Regions from separate parts of the Homo sapiens genome. Here region 2 is linked to region 1. Evidence: promoter capture Hi-C in 16 types of primary human blood cells and fetal thymus (Javierre and others, 2016). All regions are on one chromosome and are shown on one strand. Each heading gives the region's core, a stretch centred on a gene start or on the middle of the fragment in contact. The rest is flanking DNA. Distances are from core to core; before and after follow the strand shown. Region 1 holds the start of XKR3 (XK related 3). Region 2 has its middle 91 kb from the start of XKR3.

What was found. The method cuts DNA at HindIII sites, captures the fragments that hold promoters and counts their contacts. A CHiCAGO score of 5 or more calls a contact.
Region 2: a fragment that was not itself captured here is called in contact with the fragment with the promoter of XKR3 in region 1 in 2 of 17 cell types (naive B cells and total B cells); the score reaches 6.0 in naive B cells.

What each region holds. Positions count from the first base shown.
Region 1 is chr22:16,822,651-16,830,374 of GRCh38, forward strand. XKR3 (XK related 3) reads right to left here and starts at 2,761. Exons shown (of 4, transcript NM_001386955.1): 1 at 2,641-2,761. It also overlaps the pseudogene HSFY1P1. The HindIII fragment of the contact is 7,309 bases long and covers 1-3,298 here.
Region 2 is chr22:16,912,542-16,920,265 of GRCh38, forward strand. It overlaps the pseudogene IGKV2OR22-4. Among named protein-coding and RNA genes, the nearest start is that of XKR3, 91 kb to the left of the region's middle. RefSeq lists a silencer at 5,117-5,166. The HindIII fragment of the contact is 581 bases long and covers 3,845-4,425 here.

The DNA.
Region 1 (7,724 bases), core at 1,511-4,010:
TGCTGGAATGGCTATATTAATATCAGACAAAGTAGAGCAAAAAAAATGGAAAATATCAACTGATGCTCAAGTTGTTCTGGTTAGCAGTACAAACTCTGGAACCAGACTTTCTGAGTTACAATACTGTCACTTCTATTTTTTTCTTTTAACTATAAAATAAATGTCCACATTGCTAACAAGCATATTAACTAGCTTATTATGCTTGCTTCCTTTGCTTTTGGTTGTGGTGGGTATTTATTTGTTTATTTTTTAAGACATGATCTGCCCTTGTCACCCAGGTTGGAGTGCAGTGGCGTGACCTAGACTCACTGAAGCCTCAACCTCCAGGACTCAAATGATCCTCCTGCCTTAGCCTCCCAAGTAGCTGGGACCACAGGTGCATGCCACCATGTACACTAATTTTTGTGTTTTTTGAGGAGATGGGGTTTGACCATCTTCCTGGTCTCAAACTCATGAGCTAAAGTGATCCACCTGCCTCAGCCTTCCAGTGTTGGGATTACAAGCATGAGCTACCACACTGCCAGAATCCTGTCATTTCCTTGAATTGCAAAATTAAAACCTCATAAGCTACAGTTTCCACATCTGTACAATGATAACATCATTAGAATCTTCCTGGGGAGATAGCAGTGTAGAGAAAATAATACATCGGCAGCAGGAAGAAGAGTTCGTGGTACACAGTGAAGTTTGGAAAGGTGTTCCTATTGACATCATTATAATCATGACCACCATCATCATTTCTTAGAAACACAGAATTGACAGGACTCACTGATTAAGAGTATTTGACAGTGAAATATGAGAGAAGAGATTGCCTTGGTCAATTCTTGAGTATCCATCTGGTAGAGCTTGGAAAAGTGGTGGAAGCAGAATTTTTGGGAAAAACATTTAAAATAAACTTAAACACCTTACTTTTGATCTGCGTGATGTACAGAACTGGTGATGAACAGGGCAACCTTGTCACTTTAAAATATATCTGATTGCCAATTTGCAGCATCACAAGACTAGTAAACATTTACTGTGAAACATTCAGAAAATACAAATTACCAAAAGAATAGAGTTTACCTATTGCTTAGTTTTCTCCAGCAATGGAGAGATCAATAATAATAAATCTGACACCAATTCAAAATATGAAACTTTAGGGTACTCAAGTACTAAAAGGTTTTTTTTTTTTAATGTAAACAAACTCACAGGTAACAGTGTCCAAAGTAGAACATTAGAAATGAGAGATTCTTGATGTAACAACAGGTCCAGGTGATGATAATTCAAGGCTGCTGAAACAAGTGAATGAAATCTTGAAGGGATCTTAATGATGAGAACTAATTCTTGCTTGTTGGAGTGATGAGACAAATGGTCCAAAAATTAAAAAACAAAACAAAACAACAACAACAACAAAATAATTTGTTGCTTGCAAATAGGCCCTAGAAGCAATATGAAACAGTCTTCAAATGAATAGATGAGAAAAATCGCATCTGACCTAATTAATTCAATGTCACAAAAAGAGAGACAATGTGTTATTTAAAGGGATGAGACAGAAAAAACACTCTTGTAAATAAAGAGAGAAGAGTACAATGAAGTACCCATTTCCACCTACGAGGAACGGGCATGTAAGAAAATACGGGAATCATGTGCAGATGATATAATTACTTATCTAGAGGCACCATAAAAATGTTTTTCCCCAAATAATGTCCATTAGGGATAAAATTTTAAGAAAGAAAGGATGTTACTTTTAAAGACAATTGTTAAATACCTAGTAAATAGAGTAAGTGAGTAAGAAAAGCAGAAAGAAAATAAGTTGCAGCTACCAGATACCCACAAAAAGAAAGAAAAGGGAAAAAGAAGGAATGGAGGGAGAGAGCACAAATGGAAAGAAAAAGGGTGGGAAGGAGGAGGGAGAGTAGAGAGAGAAATTACAGAAGTAGGCGAGGGGTATAAAGGAAAGCATGGAAAGACAACTGCAGAGACATCAGAGTTTCTGGGCCTCAGGATAGGGGAAAAATACATCCAACATTATAAGAAATATATCCCACTCTCTCCCCAGCAATCCATACATCGAATATGATATTAATGCAGATTGCACCTTTCTGGCTGCCCCAACCACTTCCTTCTCCTTTGGACTCACAGAAGGACCTCTATAATTTATTTCTGGAAAACACTTATGAAAATATGCACATATGAAAAGGGCCACAGAGTTTAGAAATGGGTCTTCCAGAGTCTAAAATTCAAGGTAGAAAGTGAAAGTGAAGTCACTGAACAATGGAATTTAGGCATGTGTTTGTGATTAAGTGAACTTGTTTCTTGTACTCACATAGCCAGTGCATCACTGCATCTGAATAACAAAAAATATGGTAGATTTCTGCCCCTTTGAGATTTCACTTAAATACGAAGCACTTTCTCCTTCTGATGTTTAAAAACATGCTGAAATTTGTAATATATTAGTAACAACCACTGTCCCACCCAAATGCTAAGCAGCTGCTTCTCTTCTCTGAAAATCAGAATCAAGAGAGGGAGTTTCTAGGCTCAAGACTCGGGAAAAGCCACCCCTGATATCCAGAGATTTATGTTAAGATCCCCAGCTGAGACAGGCAGAGGTCAAGGTAGGCTGAAGAAGCTGATCTGAGATGGTCGAGGGCTGCTCCTACTTACCTTGCCTATTTGCCACCCTCACAGTTTTGAAACTCGTTCAAAAAGTAAATGCTTTTGTTCACCTCTTTAACAGCACCATTTCTGGTCTCGTTTTCAACACTACGTCCTTTGCTTTGCAGGTAAAATTGCTTATTTTCTTGCCTTTTTATGACTAAAGTAGGCTTGCAGTTTGGAGTCAGGTGACTGCACTAGCTGAGTCATCTTCCCTTGAAAACACCAAGGCATTCTTCCTCCCTACAGAGTCACACATCTTAGTTCCCCAAAACGCTCAGCCACAATTTGACTTCGATTGTCCTACATTTAAGGTGATATTTTTCTGATTCTCCCATTAACTCCCTCTTCTCTTCGCACCCATGGCCCATCTTTTGCTGCTGTCTAGTAGCCATTCATCCCCTCCCATCACAAAAGAAGTCTGTACTTCCTTCAGACAGAGCAACAAGAAAATTCCCCAGAAAGCAAACAATTAAACAAATTTTAATTTTGCCTTTTTTAAATGAAAATTCTGTCAAAATTGATGAACCACATCTGGTAGGAGCACCTGTTTTATTTTCACAAAGAGTTTTCTGATCTGGACATTTTTGTTACTTACTGCTAATATGGAAAATTTTGAACTAAACAAAATACACCCCCAAAACTTAAACTATGTTAAACCAAGACAAGCTTCTAACAATGACACCTCTTTCCAGTATGAGAGAACTGCCTCCTACAGTATAAGAAATATCAAAATCATTATTTTTTTATTCCACACATATTCAACACTTAAAGCCAAGGCATTAGAATTTTAATATACCACCTCTCAAGCATGAACATATAAAAATTCTTACTGTAAATGGGGCATGATTATTTTTCAAAGAGAAGAAATATTTTATTCAATTCTAAGATTAATTCACAAATTTGACTCCTGTTTTATAATGATAACTTTACGTTGCAGGACACAGAGATTATTCCTTAAGAAATATTTTTTAAATAGATATTTGGCTCTTGGAACCAAATAATAAAATTTTCTGCTTAGACATACATACAAATTTACTTTACTTAAAACACTTTCTTGTTATTATTACATTTTTAAATCTCCCACTCTTTGGGATCTCCTTATAAGTAGGTCACTTGCTTTTAAAATCTTACATAATTAACATGTCAGATATTTACAGACATACCAAATGAAAGTATTATTTATTCTATGATATGAATAAAAAATGTTTTGAATAGATACATACATGAATAACTTTTTATTCTGAAATCTAATCAGTTTTATTCATATTTGATTTTATTTTAATTTTTTAAGGTATGTTTCACATAATACAAAATTACATTATTCAAAATTATATTATTAAAACATTTCTATCATCAAACAGGAAACCCCATTATCTACTTAACAGTTCTTTCTATTCCCCAGCCCCTGACAACCATTAACCTACCTTTTGTCTATATGGCCATGTCTTTTTACCATATATGTTTTACACTGCATCAGTTTTCAATCCAACATGCCAAGCTGAGAGAGTTTTTAAAATATTTATTTTTATTTTTTTGCACCGTCCAATTACCAGGCCCTATGCTCCTCGCACCAATCTAGTAAGACTGTGTGTGTCAAGGAGAAAATTATGTTTATTTCAGGGATTGAGGATATTAATTAATTTATTTATTTATTTATTTATTTATTTATTTATTATTTTCTTAAGACAGAGTCTTGCTCTGTTGCCCAGGCTGGAGTGCAGTGGCACAATCTCAGCTCACTGCAGCTTCCGCCTCCTGGGTTCAAACGATTCTTCTGCCTCAGCCTCCCGAGACCTGGGACTACAGGCACATGGACCACACCTGGCTAATTTTTGTATTTTTAGTAGAGACAGGGTGTCACCATGGTGGTCAGGCTGGTCTCGAACTCATGACCTCATGATCCGCCTGTCCCGGCCTCCCAAAGCGCTGGGATTGCAGGCATGAGCCACCATGCCTGGCCCTCCTTATTAATTTAAAAGATTCTGCAGGCATGAAACTTTTGCAGAATAAACTGTGTAAGTAATCATTCTATATTTTATTTTTACCAGATACATTTCTGAGACTGGAAAGTAAACAGTCTTGGCCAAATTTTTATGTTTGTTGCTAGGTGACCAAAGTCCTCTTGTGATGCCATTGCTACTCAGGTTGGAAACCACTGTGGTGATCTCAATTACTTTACCTGAGTAGACTACTGAAGCAGCATTTGAAGCTGCAGTCTTGAAACACATGCAGGCTGGAAAAGTCGCTAAAGAATTACTTATTTGAGATGGCACATGTTTCTGCAGAAACTCAAGATGTTTCTCCTAAAGATGAATCAACTGGTTCAAAAGCCTCCTCTGGGTCTCCATTGTGTGAACACATAATCCCTGGGGATTCAGACTTAAGGTCAATGACTGAATCAATGATTTTCAGGTTTTGCCACAAGGATCCTTGATAAAAAGGCCACATTATACTTTATGTCTCTGAGCCAGATAAAGATAATGATTTTCCTTCTCTGACCTTTCCCAGTAAACTTTGGAAAATAGCTGAAAGTGACCAATTCAAGTCTAATTCATAGGATAAGAATGAAACTTGCATAGTGACTAATGAAGAACTCTTCAAGAAAGAAAATTTGGAAATAAAGGCTCCTTACAGAATATTTCAAACTGACAGTATGAAAATCTTAATTTGACAGCTCAACCTTTATGGATTTAGTAAAATTCAACAGAATTTTCACAGATCTGCTTTTCTAGCCAACTTTCTGGCAGAAGAAAAAGAAATTTCTGTTTTAAGCAAGGTATTCAAAATATTTCAGTTACCACTTTGAGTATATATGTAATTTCATTTTATATATCAGTAACTATGTTAATACATGCAGTAAGATCAGATTTTAAAAATTATATCAAATATTAAGGTAAAAATTACTTAATTTTTTTGAAATTATTGAGTGCAGGTTGAGCATTAAACTTTCAGGTTTTAAGAAATGTTGCTAACAACATTCAGTCTTACCAGTGAACTCCAAATAAAGATACCAAAGCCACTTAGTGAAATGTTACTATTAAATGTATAACATGTTTTCACCAGAGGGCTTCAAAACTTGAGTGTTTTTTTTTCTCAACAAGCATGTTCTTAAAAATAGTAAACAATGTTCATTCATTATTTGATGATATTAACTTTGTGTGATAAAACAGAAATCTGAGATTGTATGGGTTATGTTTGTTATTGTTACTTGCCTCTTGGTTTAAAATGGCACTGAATTACCTTCTCCTTGGTTTTAGTTAAAGTTGTATTATCATCCGAATTTCAAACGTGGCTGTCCCCAACTTTTAATAAGAACGAAAAGAAGAATTAAGATTAAAAACACTTCTCTTGTATCTACTTCACTGAATATTTCAAGAAACACTTTAGAGCAGGGGCTAACACAGATAAACATAATTCTGTCTTAGCTGCTGAAACTAGTGAAGAAAGTTCATTTTCAACATCTACAAATTTAAATATGACTCTAACAAGGAAATCTTCTGTCAGCCAGGGCATTGCTGGTTCACCTGACCCAATTAGAAGTGGTTTCCCTCCTCTTCCATTTCAACCTCAGTTGGACAATCAGAACAAATTACAACAAATCAACATGCTATTTTAAATCAATTGACAAATATTCATATGCACTCTCATAGCACCGACATGTAAGCAAATGGCCACGTTGTGAATTTTGTTACAACCACAGCTTCTCAATACTACATCATATCTCCCTCCTTTGGGGCTGATAGTGAAACCACCTACTTTTTCCCACCAGATATCCTGAGGTATTAGCCAATGAGGCTCCTCATTCTAACCTGCTACCAGCAGGCAACCTGTGGTTGTAAATGACTGCGACAGCTGATACATCAGTTGCCTTTCGTTACAGGCCAGCTCTTCAACCATCTTTACTGGAAAAATATCACCCTAGTTACAACTGATCTTCCACCAAAAGAGTACCAGATTATGCATGACAACAGAGACTGAAATTTATGTTGACAAGAACATTAAAAATTCCTGCAATAATCTTACTGAACAATAAAATTACATGTTGACCTTTATGGTTGCTTTTCCTTTATTTCTAAAAATACAGTTAGGAGTAAAATGGGGCTTTGTTTTAGTGGCAGGCTACTGTACCGCATTTAAAAAAAAATATGTGCTTTTTTATCATTTGATGGGAAATTTGACATGGCCCTTTGTAAGCTAGTTTATTTAATTATCTAAAGAGGAAGAAATAATAGAGTGTTTTAGTCCATTTGCTGCTGCGACAACACAATACCACTGACTGGGTAATTTGTAAGGTGACTTATTTTGCTCATTATTCTGAAGGCTGGAAAGTCCAAGGGGCTGCATCTGGTGAGATCTTCTTTCTATGTTGCAACATGGCAGGAGGCCATCCTACGGTAAAGGACATGTGATAAACAGAAAATCAGGGCCAAACTCATCCTTGGTTCCAAAGCCCACTCACACAATAACTAGCCTGTTCGCCAGATAATGCTATCAATCCCGCCATGAGGGTGCACACTCACGATTTTATGGTTTCTAAGTCCACAGTCAACGTTGGCTAATTCACATACATATGTTTATATATCAAAACCATGGCAGCAGGCAAGGGAAAAAGAAGGAATTGGAGTTAGAAAAGAGTAATAACTGACTTCTCAAGTAGTCTGGCATAAATCAAATGAGGGCCTAAATTACAATGGCACAAAAAGAATAGATATGCACACACACACGCACACACAGAAAATCTAGAGAAACATTAACACACACTATATACTTCAGTATTTTCTCACTTTTTCTCAGTTATTTTAAACTTGGATTTTAGTTGGCAAAGATTTTCTTCATTACAATTCATACCTAGCGAGCTCAGTAACCATGATCACAATTATTTGTGTCCTCACTTGCGCAATAAACTTCACATATTTTACTCATGGATTGTATCACTGTAGGCACATGGTAGAATTTTATAGCTGGCATTATCAATAGACCTTTTTGATCTTCCATCAAAGCTTGTGGCTTTAATTACTTCCTGTAAGAGTCCACCTTTCATGTTTTCTAATGCACATTTTCCTTCTTTTCTTTTGAGACAGAGTCTTGCT
Region 2 (7,724 bases), core at 2,885-5,384, 91 kb after region 1:
TTTTTTTTGACAGAGACTTGCCCTGTTAACCAGGCTGGAGTGCACTGGCACAATCTCAGCTCACTGCAACCTCCACCTCCCAGGTTCAAGTGATTCTCCTGCCTCAGCCTCCCGAGTAGCTGGAATCACAGGCACATGCCACCACACCTGGCTAATTTTTGTATTTTTAGTAGAGACAGGGTTTCACCATGTTGGCCAGGCTGGTCTTGAACTCCTGATCTCAGGGTATTAGCCCATCTTGACCTCCCAAAGTGTTGGGATTACAGGCATGAGCCACCACGCCCCGATACACTTTGTATTCCTTAACTGAATTCTGTATAATGACTCTTGAGATCAACGATTCATTTATCAGTATTTTAAAAATATATGGTGTCACTTTTTTTTTTCATTTGCAGGCTCCAGTGTGATTGATATCTATAAAAATATTGCCATACAATTTTTAAACGTAACAGAAGTGGAACTTTGGAATTTTAATTGCACTTACCATGAAATTTGTTATATTGGAATAAACAATCATCCTAGTGTACTTTCTACCCTTAGCCTGAAGCAGAACTTCTTCTGTTGATTCTGTCATTATTTTGTGTCTATCACACAGTGTAATTATATGTACCTCATGTGACTCATTATTGGGTTCAATATCATTTAGAACACTATATTTAATAAAATCTATGAAAAGCATAGATGCTCCAGGCATTTACAACTAAAACATTGAATTCAGATTCATTTTCAGGTAATGATATAATCATGTGAAAAGAATGCATTTCTGTATTTTTTGAAACCTTTTCTTTTGAAAACATAGTAATACATTTCTACTCTAAAATAGAACTTAGCCTAAATACTTTCAAAACCTTTAGAATTTGGAAAAGAAATAAAAATCTCACATAATTCTGAATGTTCCCTTTTTTACTTGAAATAAACTTTATATTTTCCATCTTTGAGTTCCTGCAGTTTATTTTCAAAGGCCACTTTTGGAATTGTGAAAACTCTGCTTTCACTTGGCAAATAATAATTAAGAGTAATCAATCTTTTAACATTAAGATCTCATACCTGCCATGAGTTTACAAAGTCTATTTGAATAATCCAACATCAAACATTTTTTCTAAGTGTTAGCTGTACTCCCCTGCACACAGCTTGTGTAGAATGCTTCTACCTGTAAGACACTGGAGAGACGGTTTGGTGGGAGTCAGAGAGCAGAATTAGGAAGATGGGAGAGTATGAATTTCCCAATATGACTAAGTGTCATCGCGTGTGAAATAAACCCCAAGATGGTCATTTCCCATATGTGTTCTACTTGTGTTGTCACTAAACTGCATCCATGGTCTGGTTATTCTGACAGTTACATGAACTTGACAAATGTGGGCAAGACAGGGAGGGTGAGGATGTGAGCTTTCATTCACTCTCCCTTCATCATAGCTGGTTGCTCCCAGGGCACGTAGCCCCCATGAATTCTCCTCCTCCTGATGCCTTCCCCAGGCTGTGACTGCTGGTGGGGCCTTAACATATGAAATCTGAGGTGCTACTGAGGCTGTCATGGACCAGCGTCCTCAGCAGCAAACCTTGCCCTGACATCCCCAACAGCCTTCTCCTCTGCAGACTCAAAGACTCTGCTCAGCTGTTCCCTCAGACAAGCAGCCCATGCGGGCAGCTGGGTCAACCCAGCAGGGAGGTTTCTGTTCGAGGATGTAGCACTGTGGGCGGAGTTTGTAGAGCTTGCATGCAGTAATAAACCCCAACATCCTAAGCCTCCACCCTACTGATTTTCAGAGTGAAATCAGTGCCTGACCCACTGCCACTGAACCTGTCTGGAACTCCAGAGGCCCGGTTGGAAACCTCATAGATCAGGAGCTGTGGAGACTGGCCTGGCTTCTGCAGGTACCAATTCAAATAGGTGTATTCATCATCAGTATCCAAGAGGCTCTCACTAGATCTGCAGGAGATGGAGGCTGGCTCTCCAGGAGTGACAGGCAGGGAGAGTGGAGTCTGGGTCATCACAATGTCCCCACTGGATCCTGAAATAATAACAGAGAAGTGCAAGGTTATATAAACACATTTTGAGCAACTTTCATGATTTTCCTTAAGATTTTGATTTAGAGTTACATATTTTTTCAAGTTTTGATTTTTATCATGAAAAGTAGACTTTCTAAAATGAACCAATTTGTTACTAGCCAGCAGGGAGCAGTTTATTTTCAAGAGCTTAATCAGAGCACTGGTCATTTTTCCTGGGAGATGATTCCTGACTATTCCTGAGACAAAAAATACGAGTAATCTTTCCCGGAGCACAGACCATGTGCCCGTAACACATGGTTGAAATAAAAATAGGAAGCTGTGGAGACCCCAGATCTCACCCTCCCACCCCATTTTCTCACCTCACTTTTGATCCTATCCTTACCAGAGACCCAGAGCATTAGCAGCCCCAGGAGCTGAGCAGGGAGCCTCATTGTGAGAAGGTGAACTGAGGAGTCCTGATCAGTCAAGGCAAGGTTAGAGCTGAGCTTTTATCTCAGACTCACAAGGGAAGGTCCTCCCTAAGGGACAACATGCAAATCACCTGGTGGGTGCAGTGGTGTGGAAAAGGTTGATGGGGCAGGGGGAATGTCTCTTCTGTGAACAATGTGACATAAAATGTTTGCTGGAGCCAAACAAATGTAGTTCAAGTCAAGTTTGCCTGTGGTCAAGGGAAGAAGGCTCTGACTGTGGAAGTTGGGACCTTGGGCAGGGACACATTGTGCAGTGCATGCCACACTGAGAACGCACAAGGACCCTGACAACGTGGAAATGTGTTTCTAGGATGCATCTTTGGGAGGTGAATGCCATCCTGCAGGCCTCCCTCCCAATCAATCTAGAGAAAGAAAACAGCCCCATTCCCACAAGCACAGACGGGCAGAGGGCCTGCAAATGAAAAGTGCTCCTGAGCCAGTTCAAGTGTTGCCTCGTATGTGCTGTTTCCAGGATAACTGTTCAATATTATTCAGTGCAAGTGTTAGAATCTCCCCGTCCCTGGCACCTGATGAGTGAGCCCCAAAAAAGCGCTCCGTCCAAGGGCCTCACAGGGAGAATGATGTGGGTCTCTACATTTAGAGCCAAGAGCCCAGCATAAGTAAGAGGCAATGGGGCAAGAATGTTACACCTCAGGCAGTGAATACAAAATTCCTGGTGACCAACTGTTCAATCTGGGATAATCGCATCATAATCATCTCACATATACAAGATTAACCAGCAGGATCTCATAGGGAAGAATTTCCTTGGTTAATGATACAAAGCAAATAAGAAATAACATTGCATGATGTTTTTCTGAGTGGTGCTTACGAAAACTCTTCTCACACAGCCTCCCTGGTCATGTGGCATCAGGTCCTGTGAGGGCTTCCAGGTTATGGCCAACCCTGAGTGAGACCTGAGTCACCCCCAGCCTGGATGTGGTGCAGCCACAGCCATGAGTCTGCAGTTGAAAAGGAAATTGTCTATGTGAGAAGAGCAAGGACTGCATCTACAGTTTTATGTCTCAGGGTAACCTGGACCTGTAACTGACATTTTCATGGTTTCATGTAAAGATGCACATGGTTCAGGGGTGTGAGTCTTTCACACAGCTGATCATTACAAAGGGAAACAATCTCATGTTTCTTGATTTGTTCGTGGTGTGCTTAGTATTTAATTGAACAGCTCCTGAATAATTCTGCCAACACCAAACACTATCACAAAGACAGTCACATTTCTGGGAAAAAAAAATTCAGCTACAACTGAAAGACTAGCTTGTAGTGCTATGTAATCTTGGGTAATTTAACAAAAATTTATATTTAATTGCCCAAGAACACAAATACATGAAATTCTAGGTAAGATTCCAGAAGAAAGCTTGGTTTCAATATCTTCTGAGAAATCTACCAAAATAACCTTTTTTCCAAGATTGGAAAAGATAATTGAATAAAAATAATATTATAGACCTTTCAATGTTTAACACCATTGCAATAATGGGGGTTAAGGAGATCAAATTGTGCTTAAGAAATTTGATTAAAGGCTCACAGTAAACTGTAGAAAACTATGTCAATTTTATTTACTCTTTTCTCATTAAATTTCGTAACTTTTGTGCACTTGACTTTTTCTTATGTTATTAACCAATTCAAACCTGCTTCTTATTCTTCAAAAAGTGAGACTCCTAAATAATCATACTAGTGAACAATAGAAACATCAGAGGCTGAAGGAAAAGAAAAAGAAAACACAATCAGCCTAACTAAAGTAGAACGAGATGGTGCATCATATTGTAAGTTTTAAATAATTATTCTGAAAGGGTATTAAATGAGGAATCAGTTCTATCTATAATTAAAAACAAACTTGAATTGCAGGGAAGTGACTAACAATAAAAAAATTTGTCAGGTTTTCTTTTACTAAAGGTCAATTCTTGAAAATGTTGTTTTTGCAAAGTATTCCTTAAGAAGCTTGAATTTAAGATAGTCTTGCTATTTCCTATGAAACTTAGTAATACATCGTTAAGAAGGTTACCATTGTGATTTTTAAAAATCTCATGATCTGTTGCTGTACATAAATATAAATTGTGAAATTTTGTAGAAATCTTTTTTAGTCAGAAAAGAGCTTTGAAATTACTCTTTATTACCTATAGACTTAAAGGATAATATTACTAATTCTGATTAGAAACCTCCCTTTCTTATCTGTTGACACATTATGCCAAGGCTTTCACAACAGCAGACAAAGCTGGTCACTCCACAGTGGACACAGATCAGAAGGTGTCACAACCACCTCCATTCGGATCTAGGTGTGCGGCAGGCCTCTGCCTCTGAGTGTCTCTAACATGAACCATGGTCACCTGAATGAGGGAGGACTTATACAGGTGGGGTTTATTATGGCTGTGTCTCCTTTTCCTGATGCGGTTAGTTTGGGGTCCATAAAACTGGGAGCAACTGCATTATTCGTAAGACTTGGCAAGAGTCTTAGAAGTGGAACTGTTTGTGTTCATGACCCTGGAGTCAGTGTTTGGGGTGGACACTGTGATCCGATTTGTACGGGATTGGAATGACTTGCGGGCTCATCAAGGAAAAAGAGATGGCCACAGGGGGGCAGTCGCACACATGACTTTATTGGGTGACGTTTTGTCAGGTTTGCAGAGAGAAGCCCCTCCCAGCAGGAATCTGTGCAGAGAATAAGCTGCCAGGCTTGCTTCTCGAAACGATGGGACACTGGACAAGGGGCTGTGTGTCTAGGGGACGCCTCACAGCAGCACAGTGGGGAGTTTCTGGTTTAAGGTTTTCATAACTGGGGTTTATCTTACTGCGAGTAGATGTGGTTGAAATTTTCTGGACATGCAAAGTAAGTATTTTCTAAAAGGCTAAAAGTATTCTTCTTTGGGCTGTTGTTAAAATAATTGCATTGTAAAATTTGAGTTTGGAACAGGCCATTAGGAAGTAAACACAGTTTTGGCCGGGCCCGGTGGCTCACGCCTGTAATCCCAGCACTTTGGGAGGCCAAGGTGTGCGGATCACAAGGTCAGGAGTTGGAGACCAGCCTGACCAACATGGTGAAACCGCGTCTCTACTAAAAATACAAAAATTAGCTTGGCATGGTGGCACGTGCCTGTAGTCCCAGCTACTCGGGAGGCTGAGGCAGGAGAATTGCTTGAACCCGTGAGGCGGAGGTTGCATTGAGCCAAGATCACGCCATTGCACTCCAGCCTGGTTGACAGAGTGAGACTCCGTCTCAAAAAAAAAAGAAGTAAACACAGTTTTGAAATAAACAACATGGGGGCCAGGACCCACAGGCCATCTTTAGCTCATTTCTATGTCACTGTTTCTAATTCTGTAGACTTTGTTCTACAGACGGCATTAGTCCATATTTTCCAAACCAACACTACCATGGATGAGGTTGAGTAACACAGAGGCCTGTTCCCCACTTGGGGCACAATGAAGGTTCTTTTTGTTAAAGGGGAGAGTTTATCTTTGCATGCAAGCCACCCACTGAGCATCCCTTCGTGAAGCTGCAGGTCCTGTGACTGGATTCCTGGCTGCAAGGCACCGGGGGTTGAAGCTGTCTGCATTATCTCACTAACTGTAAATTGTCACTCACTGGAGAATATATTCACAGATAAATATTCTGGAACACAGACAGCTCAGGGAATGAAGGCTTCATGAATGTGTATCTTCTGCTTCTGAGAATTCATCTCTCCGGCACTGGAAGAAACAGGGTTGTTCATATGTTGTACCTTCAGACCGTGTTCTAGACCTGTCTAAGCTGACCCTGTTTCCAAATATTTGAGTTATTGTTCTTTACTTTTCCTTGGAAAAAATGTTTAGAAATCCTATAAAACTATATACACAGCTGTGGGAATAAGTGGTGAGTTTTTCCTCTGTGCTTGCTAATCTTTCTGCAGGGCCCACCTCACCTACCAACAAACTGCAGAAAGGGAAGCAATGATTCTCTTTCCTTCCTGAGCATTCTGTGTCCACGTCACTTCAATCTCTGTCTCTGTCTTCAAATCACCTTCTCTTCTGCAGTCTTTGTTAAATGTCTGCCTATCTATCTTATAAGGACAATCGTGATGTCCTTATAAGATAGAGATAGGCAGACATTTTAACAAAGCCTTTTTATTGACCCACCTGGACCAGGGCCCATCTGGTCAATACAGGATGATCTGCCCATTTCATAATCCTTAACTTTCATGTCCGATTAAATTCTGATGAGAAAGCAAAATGGGCTAAAAACTTCATCCTGAAGGAAACATTCATGTTTAATGCACAGGAACTGCAGATGAAGCCTGAGTTCTCCCTCCTCACCAGAGAGTTGGAAAAGCAGGAGGAAGAGGAGCAAAGCTGGGTCCCCGCCTCCATGAGGGCCTCCTAAGGCTGCTCCTGCTCACAGAGGGTGGGGAAGGTGGATAGTCAGCTTGCGCTGCCACACCAAAAACACTGATCTGGATGACATAAACCACAGAATTTAATTTTCATGTTTCACATTTTTGGTGCCCAGATCAATGTCCAGCAGGGTTCGCTTTCTGGTAAAGACCTTCTTCCGGGTTTGCAGATGCCACCTGGGCTATGACCTGATAAATATCTATATACATTTTGCCATGCAACTTTTAAACATAACAGAAATGACACATTGGAATTTTAATTGTACTTACTACGGAATCCATTATCTTTTTTTTTTTTTTTTTTTGAGACGGAGTCTCGCTCTGTCGCCCAGGCCGGACTGCGGACTGCAGTGGTGCAATCTCGGCTCACTGCAAGCTCCGCTTCCCGGGTTCACGCCATTCTCCTGCCTCAGCCTCCTGAGTAGCTGGGACTACAGGCGCCCGCCACTGCGCCCGGCTAATTTTTTGTATTTTTAGTAGGGACGGGGTTTCACCTTGTTAGCCAGGATGGTCTCGATCTCCTGACCTCATGATCCACCCGCCTCGGCCTCCCAAAGTGCTGGGATTACAGGCGTGAGCCACCGCGCCCGGCCGAATCCATTATCTTAAAATAAATCATCTCAAGTATAATTTAAGCCCTTAGCCTGCATCGGGATCTTGTTCTATTAATTCAATCAGTCTTATGTGTCTCTGCACCGTATTATCACAGGTAACAGACATCACTCATTACTCGGAGTCATACAAATGGATTTGGCAGAAAAATCGGATCATGGATGCAGACTAGTGGCAACACAAGTGAAATACATGTTAGAAATGACTCGTTTGGAAATAGTTTTCTACATGTTAGCACTTGGTCATATTGGGAAATTGCCAT